Linked DNA regions of Homo sapiens: region 1 is linked to region 2. The links are contacts of gene promoters, found by promoter capture Hi-C in human tissues and cell types (Jung and others, 2019). All regions are on one chromosome and are shown on one strand. Each heading gives the region's core, a stretch centred on a gene start or on the middle of the fragment in contact. The rest is flanking DNA. Distances are from core to core; before and after follow the strand shown.

The links. Contacts are between HindIII fragments. The study calls those that stand out against the background at their distance.
Region 1: a fragment that was not itself captured here is called in contact with the fragment with the promoter of HHATL in region 2 in 5 of the 25 tissues and cell types used here (bladder, heart right ventricle, neural progenitor cells and 2 more).

Annotation. Positions count from the first base shown.
Region 1 is chr3:42,624,746-42,628,214 of GRCh38, reverse strand. All of the region lies in intron 6 of NKTR (natural killer cell triggering receptor), which reads right to left. The region is part of intron 1 of ZBTB47-AS1 (ZBTB47 and NKTR antisense RNA 1); the gene reads left to right. Among named protein-coding and RNA genes, the nearest start is that of NKTR, 26 kb to the right of the region's middle. The HindIII fragment of the contact is 4,741 bases long and covers 1-3,469 here.
Region 2 is chr3:42,700,543-42,704,232 of GRCh38, reverse strand. It overlaps HHATL (hedgehog acyltransferase like), which reads left to right and starts at 1,435. Exons shown (of 12, transcript NM_020707.4): 1 at 1,435-1,654; 2 at 3,394-3,512. The coding sequence starts at 3,407. HHATL-AS1 (HHATL antisense RNA 1) reads right to left here and starts at 1,692. Exons shown (of 3, transcript NR_146957.1): 1 at 1,504-1,692; 2 at 1-84. It also overlaps a transcript of CCDC13 not described here. RefSeq lists a silencer at 2,650-2,719. The HindIII fragment of the contact is 15,374 bases long and covers 1-3,690 here.

The sequences.
Region 1 (3,469 bases), core at 831-3,330, 77 kb after region 2:
AGTCCATTACTTGCATCTGCAACTCAAGATACAGAAATATAAGTCTGCACTTTAATTGGATTAGATTACATATTAAGAATACTAAAAGTATTTAACAAAAAGAAGCCCTCTGGGGTTCTCAACCTACATTCCAGGAGTAGAAATCCCAATGTAAAGCAGGGTTACTGGCACTTGGCTAATACGTGGATGAACAGAGGACATTAGCCAAAGAGGGTTACAAAAGGGCGGAGAGAAATAATATCCACAATCCAGACTATTCAATTCTACTAAAAGAGGCAGAGAGCTCATCTCACTAACTCTTAATCTTTCAAAATCTTCAATTAAAAGAAAAATTGCATTGATCTTAAAAGCGGCTGTTTAAAGAGCTGTGCAATGGTGACACATGCTCAGTAAGTTAAGGCCAGAGGCTATCAAAAATGTTTAAATTTATATATGCTTATGAAAACATACCTAAAAAAGAAAAAACCACAAAGAACATTTCAAATTGTAAAACCTTTCAATATTTATGCATTTCCATTTTTCTCTTGTACTTAAAGACAGTGATTTTTCAGTTTTCCCGACCCCTGAATCTACTTTAAAAAACATGTGTGCAAGGTATTTAAGCCTTATAAATCTTAGAAATTGACAAGTGTCACTGCTACTCCAAAAACAATCTATAGTTTTATACCATTATCAGAGAACCTTTTGCCCTTATACAGAAATGACTAATTCCACACTGAAATGAGAACTAAAACCATACTATAAACTAATAACCCCACTCCCCCACCAGAAGATGTACAGGAACTTGGTGGAAACAAGCCACTGAAGTTAAAATATAGTTCCCAGGATTAACCATGAAAAATAAAATGCACTTGTTTTACATGTACTGCTGCTATACAGATAAAGCAGAAAGTTTTTTTTTTTCTTAAAATGTTTCAATGCACATAACAACAGAATTAAAGAGATAAAGGCAAAGAGAGAGAGAGCCTTAGAGTAATGAGACATTACCTTTGGAGCGCACGGTGTAACACTCTTTCTGTAAATTTTACACAAAAATGGCAAGAAATAAATTGTAATACACTTTTAAGACAAGACTGAATCTATGTTTTAATATCAATATAACTTTGAAATTAATTATTTTCAAGTTTTATGCAGAGCAAGAAAGCTTTTTTAAATGGAGGGCTCTAAATTTTCTTTCATATGGGATATTTACGTAGAGATGAATTATGCTTAAGAAAAGCATCGTGGCTAAGTGGGAATCTATTTAGATCCTTAATATTGTAACATAGAGTGCCAATAATAGCTATTAACATATTACATTTCCTTTCACAAATCCCAGAAATTAGCTAAGACAACATTTTCTCAAAAGAGAATAGTGTATCTTGCATACATACATAAATATAAAAATCTGAATGCCCAGGACCAGTTACTACCAGTTGAAAGCAAAAATTTCATTAGAAAAAAGTGAGTTAAGATCATCCAAAATAAAATTTCAAGGAACTTTTAACTAATTCACATCAAATAATTAAAGAACCTTTCATGCTTCTACATTTGAAACCTTTGTTTGGTGACGTATCACAACAGACTACTTTCAGGAGTTAATGAGCAAATGTTCGGACCCTAGTTACTGTTCAGTGATATTAGATACACATTGAAGTTAAGTCACTGAACATAATAATAAAGCAGCATTAACTACAATTTTAGGGACCTTCTCAGAGAATAAAAAGGCAAGAGAGATGAAAGCGTAAGTGCAGTCAAATCTTAGCCACAATATCTTCTTTTCCTGTCTAATCTCTGATTTTCCCCATTATCAAGATTTTTTTTTGGAGAACACACACTGACCAATTTTTATCTATATTTAAACAAATAAATCTATTACTACTCAGATCAAAATACTATTATACCATGAACAAAATGCTTTATAAGAGTTTTGAATGTAATAAATCTTGAAATATTTAAAAATAAGCTTAAAATTATCATAAAGGCATTGACAACATGAATAAGTCAAAAAAGAACATAATGTTTGAAATAATGTGGAGTTTTCAATGAATGTTGCAAAAAAAAAAAATAAGTGACTGTAGGTGTAAAGTAGTACAGAAGAGGGAAATAAAGATAACTTCTGTCCACTTTAGCTTTTAACATGCAATGCTTTCCCTTCAACTCCTGAAACTATCACACTGTCAGGGAAGAGGCACCAAATTGTACAGAATGACAACACTTGTATAAGGGTAATGGAAACTAACCAAGCCACTTGACAATGCTCTACCCATGTGTTCCAAAAGTCACCAAAATAGAAGTGCTTTCTAAAATTCAGCACTAATGTTAAGATAATACACACCAAACATTACTAGATAAAAAATTTCTTCCACATTGCTAGCACGTAAGTCACATAAACATTAAGTTATTAAGCCTGAATGTTAGGGATGACACTTGATATTCAGAGAATATGGTTTATGGCTAAGTTTCACGAACATCTTTGCTCATGAAAAAATCTGAAATTAACATATGAAGGTATTACCCCAAAAAAAGGAAGGAAAAAGCTAGAGCTTCTCAGGTTATTAACACTTACTAGCATTTCTTCTTACATAAATTTATGAATACGTGGGTAGAAAAAGCATTTCTACCCCGAATCTAGTTTTATTACCCAAAACATCAACACAGCTTTACAAACCCCTTAAAACCAACTACTCCTCAACTCTCCTTGCTCCACTACTTTGTAATAATCAGCACTTCTCTCCCATTCAGGTACTTGCAAGTCAGATTCTTAAATGACATAAAACATATTCTAAAACTTATGCCCCGCCCCCCCATTGCCCTATTTATGACTGTTAAAATGTAGCAAACATGTTTTGTTTAAAGTTCAAAGTTTGACTCTTCTATATTATCTTGTTTTCTTACATTGTTATAATTATTAATGACCACTGACAGTGGCCAGTGACAGGAACTGTTCTTGCAGGGTCTGCAGATCCCTACTCTATGGCTGCGCAGACTCATGTTCTAACAGCAGCTGATGAAGAGACTTCTGTTGCTCTTGATTTAAGATGAGCCCAATACTTCTTTAAGACATTTTTCAGACTAATGAAAACTAGGCAATTATGACTATTTCCATTAGGCAAGACAATGTTTGCACATAAATCATTCCACACATTCAGGAACTTACAACTACCCTACAAAATACCTTCTTCCTTTTACATCCATATTTTTATACCAATGTTTAAGAAAAACGAACTGAAGGTACATAGGAAACTAAAATCAAGGTTTCCTGACAGCTATATTAGTGTCCTATCCCAGAAGTTACTACAAAGCTATAAACTATTTACTCAATCTTTTTCATGACTATTTTATACAACATCTTTGTCTTTTTGATTAATGTATATAAAGACAAAAAAATTACAGCCAGAATTAATAAGCTATCAGTAACAGCAAAAGGGGAAAGAATGTTTCCCCAAATGTCATTTTGTTTTCCAGCAAAATGTTTGATGCTTCTAAT
Region 2 (3,690 bases), core at 186-2,685:
AGGGCTGATCCAACTACTTGGCTTCCTCATGTGCCAGGTCCTTCTTCTCCCAACTGCGTACAGTGGCAACATCTTCCCTATGGGCTGTGGTGACATTAAAAAGTTAATCCATGTACATCCTGGCTACTATGATTAACTTACTCCTAACAACCTTTGACTACCCCTCCCTGAGGAAGCCCTCCTTAACCCTGAAGTCTGGCTCAGGTATCCTTCCCTTCCTGATGCTGGCCTCTCTAGTGCCCATTACCCACCACAGCTCTAACCCAGCACCCACACTGTGCAGTAGTCACCATTCATGCTTCTCAGGGTCGGGGACCACAGACACGGGCCTCTGTGTCCTGTGTGGAGTGTGTAGGTTGGGCGTCTCCTTGCTGTTCTCCAGGCCAGCGTGTCTATGTGCTCGGGAGGCAGCTCCCTGCCTAAGTGCAGTCTCTCCCCTTCCTGGGCCCTGATGGGTGGGGAGCAGCACCTCCCTCCTGCCTCCTCAACTGAGCCTGAAGCTGGGGTCATAGGATCAGCAGGGGCTCCAGGAGCTGTCCTGTGACTGATCACAGCCACAAAGCTCCTTCTACCCCCGAGAGCCTCCCCACAAGCACACAGGTGAACAGGTCCCCCTAGATAGCACAGACACATACAGCTGCCCGAGACTTGGCCTCAACCGAAGGGGCACTGTCAGAGGTTCTTAATCTCAGGGGCACCTTCAGGATGCCCCTCCCCTCAGGTATCCAGGGCTGAGGCCTTGGATGCTCCCTTCCAGAATGAGGGCCCTGTCCTACCAGGACTCCCAGTTGGTTAGGAACACACCTGTCTTCCTGTCTGCCTCCACTCTGCCACCGAGAGGATACCAGCCATTCCAAGTACCCACAAGCCTTGCCAAGTGACCCTGCTAGCACCCCTCCATCCAGGACACTCCCTATGGGACAGGGCTGACTTATGGGGATCCCTCTCAGCCACATGTCCCATGCCAGTTCCAGTCCCATCAGGCAAGTCAGCCCTCCCTCAGGCACTGATGCATGGCCAGCCAGGACTCACGGCATAATGAAAAGGACCAGGTCATGGGGCGAGACAAGTCTGCCCTGGGATAGCCCTTAGGAGGTCATATGTAAAGGTAGGAGCTGGAGTCCCTGGAGCCCAAGCATGAAAGTGTTTGCATGTTGTGACTGTGTGTGTCTGTGGTGGGGGCAGGGCTTACAAGCCTGGAGAGGCTGGTGGGACCACCAGGAGTCTTCCTGGAAGAGGGAAGTCCTGGGTAGCAGTGAGAGAGAGGCACAGGCTCTCTAGGAGCCAGGGGAGGCAGGCTGAAGAGAGGCCCAGGTGTCCCTGTCTGAGCCTATGCTACTGGACACCCTCCCCCCACCCAGCACCCGCCCCCCTTCAAGGATCCTCCCTGCGGCTCCCTGTGGCCAGCAGCTCTGCAGCACTCGGCTCTGCTCCACTCTGCTCAGCTCCGCTCCAGGAAGGCCACCTCCTCCTCCCCCTCCTCCTCCCGCTGTCACCACTCACCGCTCATAACCTCAAGGGGGTGGGGACCCCAGGGCTGGACACACCCCACCGTGGCCCCAGAGCTCAGCCGGTCGCACGGACGGACAGTTGGAAGCCGGACCCCAGAGCCTGAGGTGGGCAGTGTGCCAGGGTCCCTTGCGGCCTCCTCAAGGTCAGTGCCAGCTGGGGATGCAGCTACTCTGGGGCTCTTGAGACTTGTGGGGCACACCCCAGGCCCTCATCCCAAATCACAGGCCCCAAAAGGGGCTTTACCCCCGGGGCATCTGGGGCAGGCAGGACCAGGGGAAAGGGTATGCCCCCGTGTCCACAGGCCAGCCCTGGTCTGGGGGTCTATCAGGAGAGGCCCCAGGCTGGGGGCCAGCTCCTTGCAGAGGCCTCACTGGGGACACCCCGCACCGGCCATGGGGAGCTAAAATTGGAAAGTGGCGAGTGGGAGGCAGCTGACAAAGCTATTTCACGGGCTCTTCACCATGCTCCGGTTTCAAGCTCCTGCTCCATTAACCTGATCCCCAGGGCCTCTCCACCCCCACCCAACTGATGAGGAGGTGCCTCCACCCTCAGGCCGACAGCACAGCCATCAGGCTGGCAGCCTCTGCTGTGGGCAGGGGCAGTGGTGGTCTTCTCTTACCCCAGATTCCAGAGGGGGGTCACTGAGAAACCCAATCCTGAAGGGAGGCAGGCAGAAGTCTGTCCCAGGTCTGCCATGTGACCTTGACAGGTCCCTGCCCCTATCTGGCCCATGACCCCTCCATCTGTACGAGGAGACCGTCGGCTGCTGGGGGGCCCAGGGGAGATGGCTACAGGGCTGGGGATGAAGATTTAGGGGAGGATCAAGGGTGGGCAAAAGGGCCACATCAGCCACCTCTTGGCCCCGTCAGCCCAAGAGTTGCCTGGACATGTTCCCTGCTTCCTCCCTTTAATTTGGGTCCTATGTCTGTATCCATGGAGTCCTTGGGAAGCCCCTGAGCCAGGCTGAAGCGGGATAGGAAGGGTAAAGGTGCTAGCTGAGCCGTAGTACGGCCCAGCAGTTCTCCAGGGGACAAGCTAGGCCCCCGCTGGAGGGAGTGGTGAGACTCAGCCGGGGCCTGATTCTGGTCAGCACCTTGGACAGCAGCCAGTGCCCTCCCTGGCCCCGCCTGGCCCCGCCTGGCCCCACATCCGCTACTCCTGGGCACCTCCTCAAATAGCACAGCCTCCAGCTGGTGCCCAGGGCCTGAATACACAGAGCGCTGAGAGAGTGGGGCAGTGTGGTCACGGACACAGGCAGGGACTGGGATGTGACAGGCTGGAGCTCAGGGACTTGTTGGGGGAATGGGGGTCAGTGACAGGCTGGAGGCTTAATGCGAGGATGGAGGCTTGGCTCTAGGGGCAGCACCTGGGGTGGTCATGGGATCTCAGGGAGGGGAGTGGGAGTCAGAGAAAGGGTCTTAGAGAAGCTGGGGCTTTGTGAGGAGCTAAGGGAGACTCACTGATCGAGGTGGGGACCCTGCAGGCAGAAACCTGACTGTAGTGATAGAGGTGGGGTTTCTCCGCACGCAGGTCATGGGGGCCTTGGCAGGAGCGGTTTTGGCAGAGGGTGGGGCCGGTGCCTCTGGAAGGTATGAAGATGTAAATGAAGGTGAGGGAGGCAGGCTGCGAGTGAGGGCTCTGCGGGCAAGAGCCTTGATGGGTGGGGTGGGGGCAAGAGCAGCAGCTGGGATGGGGCACTGGTGTTCGGTGGCCTGTGAACTGTGGGGGGCACAGGGGCAGGCAGAGTGATGGTACAAGGTCCCCAAGGGGCTGGAGGGGCAATCTCTCTTCAGAGTGGGTCCCCACTGGGGTGGTGGGACCATGAGGTGGGGCTAGGCTTGGCTGGAGACTGTAATTCCCTCACCCAACCTGTCTCCCCAGCCCTGTCCAGGCTATGGGCATCAAGACAGCATTGCCGGCGGCTGAGCTGGGCCTCTACTCTCTGGTGCTGAGTGGGGCCCTGGCCTATGCTGGCCGGGGCCTCCTTGAGGCTTCACAAGGTAATGGCTGTGCCCCGGGGCAGGTGGACAGGACCCTTCTTCCCCTGGAGGCCTCAGGGTTCCAACCAGCAAAGCCAGAAAGTTACAGGCTCCAGACCTAGGGTACTCCTTCTAGAACACGGCTGGATCTCCCTTTTCAGCCCGGGGTTCCCATCTCAGATAGTCACTGGAGGCTGGG